Linked DNA regions of Homo sapiens: all the other regions are linked to region 3. The links are contacts of gene promoters, found by promoter capture Hi-C in blood cells and fetal thymus (Javierre and others, 2016). All regions are on one chromosome and are shown on one strand. The core of a region is centred on a gene start or on the middle of the fragment in contact, and the rest is flanking DNA. Distances in the headings are between cores, read along the strand shown. Region 1 overlaps LINC01934 (long intergenic non-protein coding RNA 1934). Region 2 holds the start of ITPRID2 (ITPR interacting domain containing 2). Region 3 holds the start of SESTD1 (SEC14 and spectrin domain containing 1).

Region 1 (3,862 bases), core at 236-2,735, 2.1 Mb before region 3:
AATTTGGGTTCCGTAAATATGGCCTTCATATCTAAAACTGTTTTGTTTTTAAAGTAGAAGCTGTTTTTGAGAAGAATATTAAATGAAAGAGAGGGAATATAAATGAAATTTTAAAAAAATCAGAATTCATGACTTAAGGACTATTTCTACATTGTAATTAGTAATTTAACGGACTCTTTTTCAATTTCAGTAATTAATTATGCCTCTGAATTCAACTGGTATTTTGAAACCACAATTGCTTATTTATTAACTAAAAAGTCGTTTGAGGCCATTACGCAAGGGAATACAAATTTAAAAGATTAAAAGGATTGACAAAAGCTCAATTATTATACCCCTTTTACATAAACCTAAAATTTAAGGTATGACTCACCAAAAGACTATGTTTCAGTGAAGCTTTGCTTTTCTATATGAAAAATTATCCTGAAATACTTATAAAATGAATGTTAAAGTGAAATTGTTTTGAGGCTTGCTAGTTGATCTAAAATATGTCACAAATTATGACTTTGCTATTGTATATGCTTAGCAAATTCTCTTGATACAAGCTGAGAAGACATGCAAACCACAATTTTATAAAAGAGGAAACTGAGACAACAAAGATTAAGTAATTTTCTCAAGATCACATGACCAGTAGCTGGAGGAGTTGGAAATTAGATACAGATCCAGCGACCTCAGAGCCTGGGTTATTGCTTGCCCCATGGAGTCTTTTTGGGTCACTTTTGGCAAATCCAAAAGTGATCATCTAGAACTTCTCTGGACTCCTTCTCATGCAAATCTTCCTGATACCTGACACAGTGTGGCACAATGTGCATCAGATGGATAAGCAAAGGAATTGTTACGCTTCTCAAAGCCTATCCTGACTCAGGGTAGGTCAGGCAAGAAAAACAATTTATCTGTCATGTGTAGACACTATTTCAAGTGGCCCATAAATGGCTCTAGGACATTGAAAGAGGGATCTAAATGAAAAAAAACATTACTCTTTGTGTGACAAAAAAGATAAGAAATATTCAATGGTGGAATCACACTGAAGAATCTCTATCCCCCAAGATCCAATTAAAGTCCCACCTCCTCAACAAAGCCTTTCCTGTTAGACTATGTCATTGTTTTCTTCTCTAGTTTCAAATTATATTTATGGTCTGTTAGTGTTCATTTGTAACGTTTTGTCATACATAAGCTTGTTTAACTTTTTCAAGTGTTTATGAATTGTCTGCTGAAAAAACCAAGCTTCTTGAGGAACGTACTCTGTCTTATCTTCCTCTTTATCATCCTAGTATTTGCTTAGTGGTTGGTTTATTGAAAACCACCCAAAGGAAGTTTGAATTGAACTGAAATTATAAAATAATACGAGTAGTAAATGATTATGAAAAGCTTTGTAGGGACCGTCATGGTAGAGTTCATGAGCTATACTGTTTCCCTTTATGAGTACAACTGAAGAAGAACCAAAGTTGGAGCCTGTATCAGTCAAGGTCAGGGCAGGAAACATAAGGCTTTCTCACAGAAGTGATGGGAGACATTTTAATGAAGAGAACATTTACGGAGGGTGGCAGGATTGTGGAAACCAGCAAAGAATGGTGAAGCAGCTCAGGGTAGCAACTGTGAAAAGCTTTTACCCCCTCAAGACCTGCAGGGGTGAAGGTATGGCAATGTTACAGCCAGACGACAGTTAGGTAGCAGGAAATGGACCAACTAACAGAGCTAAGATTGTTCAATGTACTCAATATCAAAACTTGCCAGCAGTGGTAGTAGGGTTAGAGACACACATCTATCTGTTTGTCTCTCTGTCTGTGTGTCTCTCTCCACTTCTGCTCTCTGATATCTACCTGGTCCCTGTCATTGAATGAAACCAACTGGAAGTAAAAGTGCAAGGAAGATCAGATGGTGCAGTCTATATAAGTCCTCCTGCTGGGTATAGAGCAATGTGGTGATGCAATTACATAATTTGTTCCACATACAGCTAAGGTTTTTTACATAATTTGTTCCACATACAGCTAAGGTTTTTCTGAAAATCACCTTATATTATTTTATTGATTTTACATTTTATTAAGTTGCTATATTTTAAACCATCAGTCTAACAATAGTAAAAATTAGAAGTTAATCTTATTTTAATATATGATTATTAATATTTGCATTTACTTCTTAGAAATCACAACTACATATTTAGATTTTAAAAAATATATGGGAAAATACATAAAATATTCTCAAGAAAAAAATGCTGTTTATGAGACATGTAGAAGTGTAATAGTACACTCATGGGCAGACTTAATAGCATTGTTAACACCCCCAAACTAGCAGGAAACCACAATAACTTTGAGAAAGAGGCTGAAGACACATACCCCCTGCTATAAATAAAAAAATAAATTTTTGAAATGCTCCACAGGATCAATGGTCCTTAACTTTTTTTTTTTTTTTTTTTTTAGCACTCCTTGTTCACATGCTAAACCAGGTACCGATTTTGACATCATAGATGCAGTGCAGATGTAACCACACTGTGCCTCCCCAAAAGCCAAATTTCCCACTTTAATTTTTTTTTTGTTTTTTTTTTTTGAGACAGAGCCTCGCTCTGTTGCCCAGGCTGGAGTGCAGTGGCGTGATCTCGGCTCGCTGCAAGCTCTGCCGCCCAGGTTCACGCCATTCTCCTACCTCAGCCGCCCTAGTAGCTGGGACTGCAGGCGTCCGCCACAATACCTGGCTAATTTTTTTGTATTTTTAGTAGAGACGGGGTTTCATCCTGTTAGCCAGGATGGTCTCGATCTCCTGACCTCGTGATCCGCCTGCCTCGGCCTCCCAAAGTGCTGGGATTACAGGTGTGAGCCACCGTGCCCAGCCCCATTTTAATTTTCTATTACAAGAATTTAACCATTTTTACTCTCATGTAAAGATTGGCTACAATGATGTTAACTTTCACTTTCATTTTGGTATCTGATTAGCTGGTATAGTGCCCTTTATTTGAATAAAGAAGACTGGAGGAGGAGGAGACTTGGGAAAAATATTCAAGGGCTCAGTTTTGACCAGTTGAAACAGAGACATGTTCAACCTTCCAGTGGGTAATAGAGTTTAAGGCTCACAGGAGAGATGTGGCCTGGAGATATAAATAGGAAGTTGTTGCTATGGACATGAGCCTGAATGAGATCATCAGGGAGGAAGTAGGTTGGGCACTGATTATTGAAAAGCTCTTCATGAATTACAAACCACGTTCAGAGGGGGGCTTTTAAGATATTAAAATGTACTTTTATACTGTAATGATTTAAAAAAGTGATAGTGAATTACGGGAGAGATCCATGATAAAGCATCCAGAAAGAGACTCAAGTATATATATGAATCAATATATAATTTTAATATTTCTAACTGGTAGAGGAGGTATAAGCTTATTCAACAGATAATGTCTGTTTTCTTTGGATACTACTATTTTTAAAACTAGTTGTTATTTTGATTACTTCAACAAATGAAGCTGAACAGTTAAAAGCCTGAAAAATGTTAGATCTTATATTTAATTTATATAGAATTTATTTTGATATAATTTATAAAGAACAAAGTTAGCATACAAGTAAAAATTATTTTTATAATCCTGGGATGAGGAACACATCATAAGCATGGTATATAATATAGGAACCATATTAAAAAGTTTATAAACAATAAATAATGCAATAAAACAAAGTGAAAATAAAATGGCACACCAGGGGAAATATTTTCAACAAAACTGAGAAACTGTTGTTTCCTTAGTGTAATATTTGAAGATGTTTTATAAACTGTTATTAAGCAGGTGAATACCCACAGGAGCATACTGATTATGTCAAATAATTTTTTTAATCATGAAAAAATATAAGTGGCAAATAACTTGTGAAACAATGTTTGGTATATTTAATTA
Region 2 (4,153 bases), core at 542-3,041, 2.6 Mb before region 3:
GGAGGCAAACTGGCATATGAATCACTTTCCACAACAAAACAAAACAAACTACCCTAACTCTAATATTTGAACAAAATATTAAGAAAATCTAAATTGAGAAAGCAAAAATATGCTCGAAAGCAAACACCAACAAAAGTTTAAAGGCTACATTCCTGATTTTACAACTAGCAAAGTGGAATAAGAAACAAGTACATTTTGCTGTAGTCAGATTTACGTGCAACATGATTCATCTCCTCTGTATTTTATCAAACATTTTTGTACCAGTTGCCAAAGCATGTAATTAAACAGATTTATGCAGTCTGAATGCTTTTAAAAGTTCTATTCCCTGAGAATTCCAGTGCCATCTGACAATTCCATGTTCAAGAAGTAAACTATAAGTACAAAGTTAGCTAGTTTTAATAGCTCCCCAAACAGAAACAAAATTAAAGCCCATTTAGTGTAGTTAGGTAAATTAAACTCGTCTAAAACACATTTGAAAGGAAAATGATTCCGTGCCAGTTGTACAGATGCCAAAACTAAAGCAAAACAAAATATCCTGTTCGAGATGTGAGAATTCTTTCAAATAAAAACAGAACAAATATGGCATGATTATCTGTTCTGGATTTCTGATCTCTGATGCTAACACGATGCGTGAGTAGCTCAAGTCCTAACTGTAAAGTCAACACGGTCACCAAATAATCAGCGGTCACAGCACTTCCATTTCTAATCGCTTAGAGGAGGAAGCTATCCGCCGGCTCACTTTCCGGTTTGTAGCTTACAACGGTCGCGGGACCCACAGGGACGCGGCCCGAGTGGCTCTGCTCCGGCGTCCCGTCCGCACGGATCTCCCCCGGGACGCGGGCGGACCAGGGAGCACTCACCGGCAGTCCTTGAGCCATATCGCGATCTTCTCGTTGGGCACGTTTCCTGGGGGTAGAGAGAGGGGACAGCACGTTACCACCCAGGAGCACTACGACGGCGGAGTCACCCTGGACCCTCCCAAGTAGGAAAATCTACCACGGCAAATGCAGCCTAAGCGACACGTCTCAGTGTCCCTTGGCAGGGAAATCGGATGGCACCCAGTTGTCTGTGTTGACGCTGGGGGCGCCTCGTTCAGCGCGCGCGTTTGAAGGTCGGAAGTGTCCCCTCTCCCCTCGGCCTACCGTGCCCGAGGCTCTCCCAGAACTCGTGGCAGGCGCCCAGGGCGCACGAGACTCTCCCCAGCCCACCAGCCTCCCCCCGGAGCCCGGCCGGGAGCACCGACCTCTTCCCCCCGCTGCCGGCAGCTGCGCGCCGGGGAGGTCCTCCTCCTCGTCCTCCTCCTCGTCCTGCGTCGTCGCTTCTGTGGACAGATCCTCCGTCTCCGACGCTTGCCAGGAGCTGCGGCACTTGGCCCAGGCCTTCCTCCTGCGACTCGCCACTTGCCACTCCAGTTCCTCCTCCGCCTCCGCCGACGACGACAGGGGCCGGTCCATGGCCGCACTGGGGGCTCCGCTACCCCAGCCGGACCCTGCGCGAGACAAGGCGGCGGCAGGGACCCCCGCCCTTGCTGTCAGCGCCCGGCCGGGCAGGGGGCCCCGGGGAGCTGAAGCGGGCGCCGGAGGAGGAGGAGGAGGAGGAGGGGACAGGGAGGGAGGGAGGGAAGGAAGGGGAGGGAAGGGGCGGAGGGCCGGCGCTTCACATGAAGGCGGCCGGGCGCGCGCGGGAGCGCTAGTGGCCCGAGGGAGCGCGGCTGGGAGCCGAGCGCCCGCCCGGCCCCTGCTCCCCACCCCCTGCCTGACGCGCCCGGAGCAGGCCGGCCGCTGCGCGTCTGCGCGCCTTCCCTCGGCGGCGGCCCACGCCCCCTTCCGGCCGGGGCCGCGCGGGGCGCGGTAGGGCGGGGCGCGCCCGGCGCGACGCGGAGCAGGCCAGCCCCCGACTACTGCCCGCGGAATGGGCAAGATTAGTTTGTTAATAATCTTTCCTCCTCTCCTCCTCCTCCTCCCTCACCTAAAAATAGAACGTAAGTGGGGAGGCCAAGTCTCACAAAACATCCCCCGCGAGAAAACAAGTGTCTGCTTGGGCACCCTGAAACATACACTTGAAAGAGTCGCCTGAATATAGACTCTTTAGTGTCCAAGGAATTGGGGTAAGGACGGAAAGAGGTGCTTGATTGGTGTTGCCAAAATGTAAAAACTGCAAAAGACTAAGCTTCCTGGAGTGCTACTTTCATACTTAAAGTTATTTATCGTGTTTATGTTATGAATGAAAATGAATTGTGAAAGGATATTTAATCTGGAAATTTCACATTGAAGTTGGACTTTGGTGAGGGAGAATAGAGGAAACAATTGGGACAATGTGGAGATAGTTGCTTGGATTTTGGTGAGACAGCATGATACAAGAAACAAATGATGTCAGGGTTCAAAACTTTTTAAAGCCAGCTTTGGCATTCCGTTTTGTTATGTTTAAATTCTCATTAGCAAAAATACTCAAATTCTATCCAAAACCAGACACAATGTGACAGACCTATCAAGCAGCATTGTTCCCCTAAATGTTACATCTGAACTATACATATAAGTAAGGCTTCCAATATTTTATTGTACTTGGCTATGCTCTGAAGAACAAGTTAGAACACTTTTTAAAATCTTAACGTGATTGAAAAGAATATTTTGCGTAGACAAAATATTTTAAGGAAGGAATTATTTTTCATTTGAAATTAAAATCCAGAGCATAGTAAAATTCCTAATGGAAGCATTCGAATTACAAGGTAATTAAGTGCATTGTCATTGATAGCTACAGGAAACCATAACTTTTGGAGAATTTGGAATGAAGAATGCTCTGGAGATGAAATAGTGCCTAGTTTTTGTCCAGGCATTTACACATAAGTCATAGACTACTAAAATAGCACACTGATTTTCCTGCCTTCATTCTTTCCTATCTCCTTTCTAGCGCATTGCTCTAGATTTACAATTCCAAGACATCTTCTAATGGTTTACTAATATCCCCAAGATCAAATCCAAAATCCAGACTAGCTTTCCAGAACCATCATAATATTCTCCTGAGTCTCATCTATGTACTGCCAAATGTCAGGGGAGTTAGAACAGTGATATTAATATCTCTATGGCTTGAAATTTCACTACTAGAAAATCTTTTCTTTGAACCTATAAGACTTTCTCAGCCTTCAAGGGTCCTGTAGTAGGATGCAGCTAACAGTTTAATGGCTCTCCAAAATAGGTCAGAGTCTCGCTGCCTGTGTGGAAGATGAAAAAGAGAATGAATAAAGAAGGTACCTAAGAAGAAGCATTGAAAGGGCTGGTCAAGTGCCACAAAATATGCTGCCTTCAAAGTTTTATCCAGGGTTCTTACGTATCCACCCTGTTCCTCTGCTGCTCCCAGCTTCAATTCTATCATATCTAAGTGCTGTTGCCTACTCTGTCTTTGCTAATTAATTCATTCCTGTTCTTTCTGTCCACTACCTTCATGACTTTCAAAATCTAGCTAAGCCAGAACTTTTTGACTCCACCATTCCACCACTCCTGATCACACCCCTCCCACAGGGATCTGATATACAACAGCATGTCTATGTCATTTATTTGGGGACTGGATTGTAGAGTAAATAATATGACTGGCCCTGGAAGGTATGTTTGGCTTACTAGCCAGATTGTAAATTGTGAGAGATGATAGAACATTCTTCAGTATTCTTGCACCCCTTACACTTTTAAATGCTGATCCCACAAGGGATAATGGGTCTTCTTGAGGTAGTTTCTGTTTTCTGTGTTCTTCAAAGAGACACCTAAATTGATTATTTTAAAATTTGCTTCATGTTATTTCTATAATGCTTATATTTTATTTAGGTTTGCAGTTGTTTAAATACACTTTCAGATGACAACAACAAAGAATTCTTGTGAAAGGCAATAATTAACCATAGTTTAAAAAAAAATCAAACAACCAGAGTCAAGTAATAAGGGGGAAAAATTACCAGCAGGTAACAAAGTAGAATATATACATTATTCAGTTTCCGGTAGCACAAATGTGTGCTTTCTTCTACATGGCATTTTTTAATGAAATATGTTGAGGGTATAGAAGTAATAGAGAAGGAAATCCTTGAAGTAGTATGCTATTGCCTTGAAAAGTAAGGTTTTTTCATTGTATTCTCAACTTTTACAGATGTTTTAAAATGCCCAAGGTATTTCAT
Region 3 (4,159 bases), core at 778-3,277:
AGGTCATGAATGGTTTCCTATCACTTGGAGTTCAAACATATGCTGGATAGCTACATTGCAAGGATCTAGCATATATATATTTACTTTTATAATAAAATATTAAAAACAAATGCTAATCATAGAGCCAAAGAAACTCCAGAAGTAAAGCCTCATGACTATAAGTGATTGAGCTAAGTTCATTCAGTAGTTATTGGAAAACGTAGCATCCAAATTTCATTCTCTGAATTTATAGTTTAATGTTTTTTCCATTATAGCAGTTACCTCTTATCTAACACCTAGGTAATACAATGTGGAACCAGAAGTATGTAAAGAGGAAGGGCAGGGATATTTTGTGAATTATTATAATGGATTGCTTGGCATGCTCTTGTTTTACTAGGATAAGCAAAGAATGTGAATGGTAGTTGGAGAGAGTTTAAAATGATAAGCAGAGAATGCCACATAGTAGAGAAGGGAAAAACAGAATACCACGGAAGGCTAAAAAAGGCTGGGACTGTGGACTTCCCTGTATTTTCTTTTCGTTGAGTAGATGCTCAACATCTATTTGTTGGGATGGAAAATTATTTCAACGCTTCAGCAAACAGTTAAAGAGAACCTTTTTTGTGCTGAGCACTGTGCTATGTTCTGGGGAGCAAAAAAAATGAACTAGACAAAATCCCTGTCCTTTTAAGGAACACACAGTCTAGGAAGAAAAGGCCACCAAGCAAAGCAACAGGAAAAAAGCAAGTATTAAAGATTATCATAGGGAATACTGTAGATAGACGATTTTATGAAAGCAGAGAGAAAAAGAGTATTTAATTCATTGTAAATGTGTGGGGTAAGGATACAGATGTGGTGAAAGGAGATGATGTCAGGGAAGATTCCAAGGAGGAAGGGATGCATTATCTTCATTATCTTGAAGGACAATAGGAGTTCAACTGGTTAAATGAGGGATGGATTTCAGGTGGGGGAAAACTACAAGGGCACAAAGACAAAGTCTGTTGAATTTGTGTGATACGTAGATATATTAGGAGTTGAAGCTGGAGCCAAGGAGGTCAATAGATCAGATTTTAAATGGCTTTGTAAACCATGGTAATGAGTTTGAACCTGATTCAACCAGGTGGAGAGACTTTGAATGATTTTAAAGAGGGACGTTTCATGCTTAGCTCTGTCTTTTTGGAGCATTCTCTCTGGCAGTTATATGGAACTGAAGCAGCAGTGAAGTTAAAGGCTTGACCTAGAGTGGCAAAGAGGTGGAAGTCATGGAGACAGACTGATATTCACAGAATTAAGAGGAAGAATTAATCCACGGGATTTTAAGTCAGAAAACTTTAGTGGAGAGAAATTTGGTTGCTTAGTTGTTGGAATAGGAAGATTTTATCAACGGAATTAGGTGATACTGAAGTGAGTGGCTGAGTGAATAATATGGAAGTCTTGAAATTGGGACCACACAGCTGCTCTGATCTGGTGTGAATTTGCTGATGACTCTTTTGAACTGAATTCAGGAAATGACATACAAATGATTTGCGCAATAAAATGAAAACAAGGACTCTTAAGTCAGTATACTTGGAGAAAAATAACTAGGTTGGTAAAAATGGGGAAGTAGCCATTATCAGGGAGCCCCATTGTGGATTAATTTTGGACTGTCCAGTGGAAAGATCCTCAAAGCAAAACAAATGCCCTGAATCCAGCCCTTCCTCACCGCAACCCTTTCCCTTTCATCTGCCTTCATCCTTCAGCCACACCACCGCTTGGCAGTGAGTACTTGGGAGCAGCTCTTGGAGACTTTGTACTCGAACCTTCGAACTCCAGCATGAGGCCAGAGGAAATAAATGACCTGCCAGGGTGTCAAGTAACGGACCCTCTCTTAAGCCCAGACTTCTGACTCCAGATCTAGGTACCCTTCCACTCTCCAAGACTGCCTCCCGCCTGGGGAGCCTGGGCCTCGGCTAGGGGTGGGGACGGCAGGGTCCGTCCGGAGCGCCAGAGTCCCACTCGCGCCCAGCCCTCAGCCCCAGGCCCGGTTGGACGCCCCGCCCCGCCCCGCCTCCTTCCTCCTTCCCGCGCCGGGCGGGTTGCTGTACCGCCGTCACCCGGGCGCGCGCGGGGTCGCGCGGACGCGGCTCGGGCCGCGGGTGCCGAGAGGTCGCCGGGCCACCCGCACCCCCGCTCCCCGCCTGACGCACGGAGGGGCCGGGACGCGATTTGCCGCGAGTGACTGGAGCCGCAGCCGTCGCCGCTGCTGCCGCCGCCGCCCGGGCCCGCTCCGCCCCCAGCCCGCCTTCCTCCCGCCGCGCCCTCCGCCTCCGCCCGCACCTCGCTAGCGTTCCCCTGTCTTCCCCAACGCCCCGGAGCCGCCGGCCGCTAGCGTCAGCGCCAGCCAGGTGAGTGTGGCCGCCGCTCGGCCCGGGCGGGAGAAGCGCGCAGGCCCCGCGGCCGGGTGGCCGGCTTGGGCCGGTGCAGTCGGCGGCGGCGGCGGTAGCGGGCCCGGCTTTCTTCCCCTGCGCGGGCCGCGGGGCGGAGGGGCTACGCAGTGAAGGAGGGGCGCCCCCGCCCCGCCACCGCCTCTGCTCCCAACGCCCCGACCGCCCCCACCGCCTTGCCGCCACAGACAAAGCGCCGGAGGTGGGAGCCCTGCGGGCCGCCTTTGCCTCCGCGCCGTCTGCCGGGTGCGGCCGCGGCCCGCAGAGACCGGGCCGCGCGCTTTTCCGTTCCTGAGCGCCCTTGTTCATTTCTGGGTGAAAGGGACCCGAATTGTGCAACAGGTTTGGGCGTTAGTCCTTATTTTCCAGCGGGTCTCTTTTGCCAGCGTGCAGGAACCAGATGTGGCTCCCTGCTCTCGGGCGAGTCCCGCGTCCAGCGCCCGCGACTGGCTCCTTTGTGTGACCGGTGACCGGCCCTGTCGGGTGGGTGGAGGACACGGGCTCGAGGCCCCAGGGCTGCGCCGAGGCTCCTGGACGCCTCCTCAGGTCGCGGGGCTTGGCTTCCACGGGCCTGCCAGAGGTTAACATCCCTCCAGCGTTTGGGAGAGTCACAAAGGGGAGGAGAGAGAGGGTTGGCCAGGGTCTGTGGTTGTGTTTATTTTTCTATTTTAGGTAGACTCATATTAGAAAAGAGCCGCAGTCTGACCAGCTCTTGAGGGTACGGGTGGGATTTCACCCTGGGATGCACGGTTTGGACTTGGCTGTTGCTCTGACAGCCCCCGTGGTTTTCTTGGTGCTTTGACATCTTTCTCTTACACACAGACATCGCGGGAGAAGTTGGGAGTGCTGCCGAGGGAGTAACTAGATAGCAGCTGTTTGACAGGTCGTCTCTTACTTCACGTTTTGCTTGTGTCAAGCATGCCCACTATGTATCCCAGCATAGCTTGGCAAACCGTCAAATTTAAATTGCCACTCAAAATCCTAATCCTTATACATACCTACATACACAGACACACATATATCTATATACTTTTTCTGTTTTGGCTGGCTAAATCTTATTAATGTGAGAATTTTTCCTCCCAAGGAAGAATGCATAATAAGGTACAATTTATCTTTGGTTACATACCTTGGTTAAGTTATGCCAATACCTAGCTGGTTTCATTGGTATGCTATTTTAGTTTAACAATACTAATTCCTTTAGCTTTGAGCAGTAAAATACGTCTTTGTTCTAGGACCAGGAAGCTTTTATACGTAATACTTTGCCCCATGACTAAATACGTGAAAAAATTCCCCAAGGACCTAGAAAGCATTTCACAACTCTATAGGCTGTTTTTATGTTCCAAATTCCAGGAAATCGTTTTGTTGAATATTTATTCAAACATTCTGGACTAAATTTAACCTTAAAAATTGGGCCCACTCTAGTTTTTCCCCAGCATTAGAAAAATGAATTGATTGCATTTACCAAACATTTTAGCCCCTGTGAATAAGAATTGAATGGAATAATTGATGTAAGAGATTAGGAGCTAGTGATGGACTAGGAATCTGACAACAGAATGCAGAATGTAGAAAGTTGTAAGTAGAGGTCACAAAGTTGCATCTACTTGGGTTTTAATTCATTGCTAGGCATTTAATGACATTTTAAACAGGTAATCTACTAATGATATATCTGAAAATGAAATGTCCAATAATTAAGAAAACAAAGTATTGCATTTTGACCTTTTTAAAAAATGTATTTTTATAAGGACTTGTTGAAGCTTTTC

Evidence for each region. The method cuts DNA at HindIII sites, captures the fragments that hold promoters and counts their contacts. A CHiCAGO score of 5 or more calls a contact.
Region 1: a contact is called between a fragment that was not itself captured here and the fragment with the promoter of SESTD1 in region 3, in 1 of 17 cell types (M0 macrophages). The highest score is 5.1, in M0 macrophages.
Region 2: the fragment with the promoter of ITPRID2 here is called in contact with the fragment with the promoter of SESTD1 in region 3 in 1 of 17 cell types (total B cells); the score reaches 6.1 in total B cells.

Annotation. Positions count from the first base shown.
Region 1 is chr2:181,392,826-181,396,687 of GRCh38, reverse strand. All of the region lies in intron 4 of LINC01934 (long intergenic non-protein coding RNA 1934), which reads right to left. Among named protein-coding and RNA genes, the nearest start is that of ITGA4, 63 kb to the left of the region's middle. The HindIII fragment of the contact is 235 bases long and covers 1,368-1,602 here.
Region 2 is chr2:181,889,368-181,893,520 of GRCh38, reverse strand. ITPRID2 (ITPR interacting domain containing 2) reads right to left here and starts at 1,791. Exons shown (of 18, transcript NM_001130445.3): 1 at 1,244-1,791; 2 at 861-906. The coding sequence starts at 1,454. RefSeq lists silencers at 1,155-1,294, 1,585-1,914. The HindIII fragment of the contact is 2,528 bases long and covers 1-2,171 here.
Region 3 is chr2:179,262,700-179,266,858 of GRCh38, reverse strand. SESTD1 (SEC14 and spectrin domain containing 1) reads left to right here and starts at 2,027. Exons shown (of 18, transcript NM_178123.5): 1 at 2,027-2,360. RefSeq lists silencers at 1,926-2,545, 2,556-2,625, 2,734-2,897 and an enhancer at 3,226-3,295. The HindIII fragment of the contact is 5,018 bases long and covers 1-3,643 here.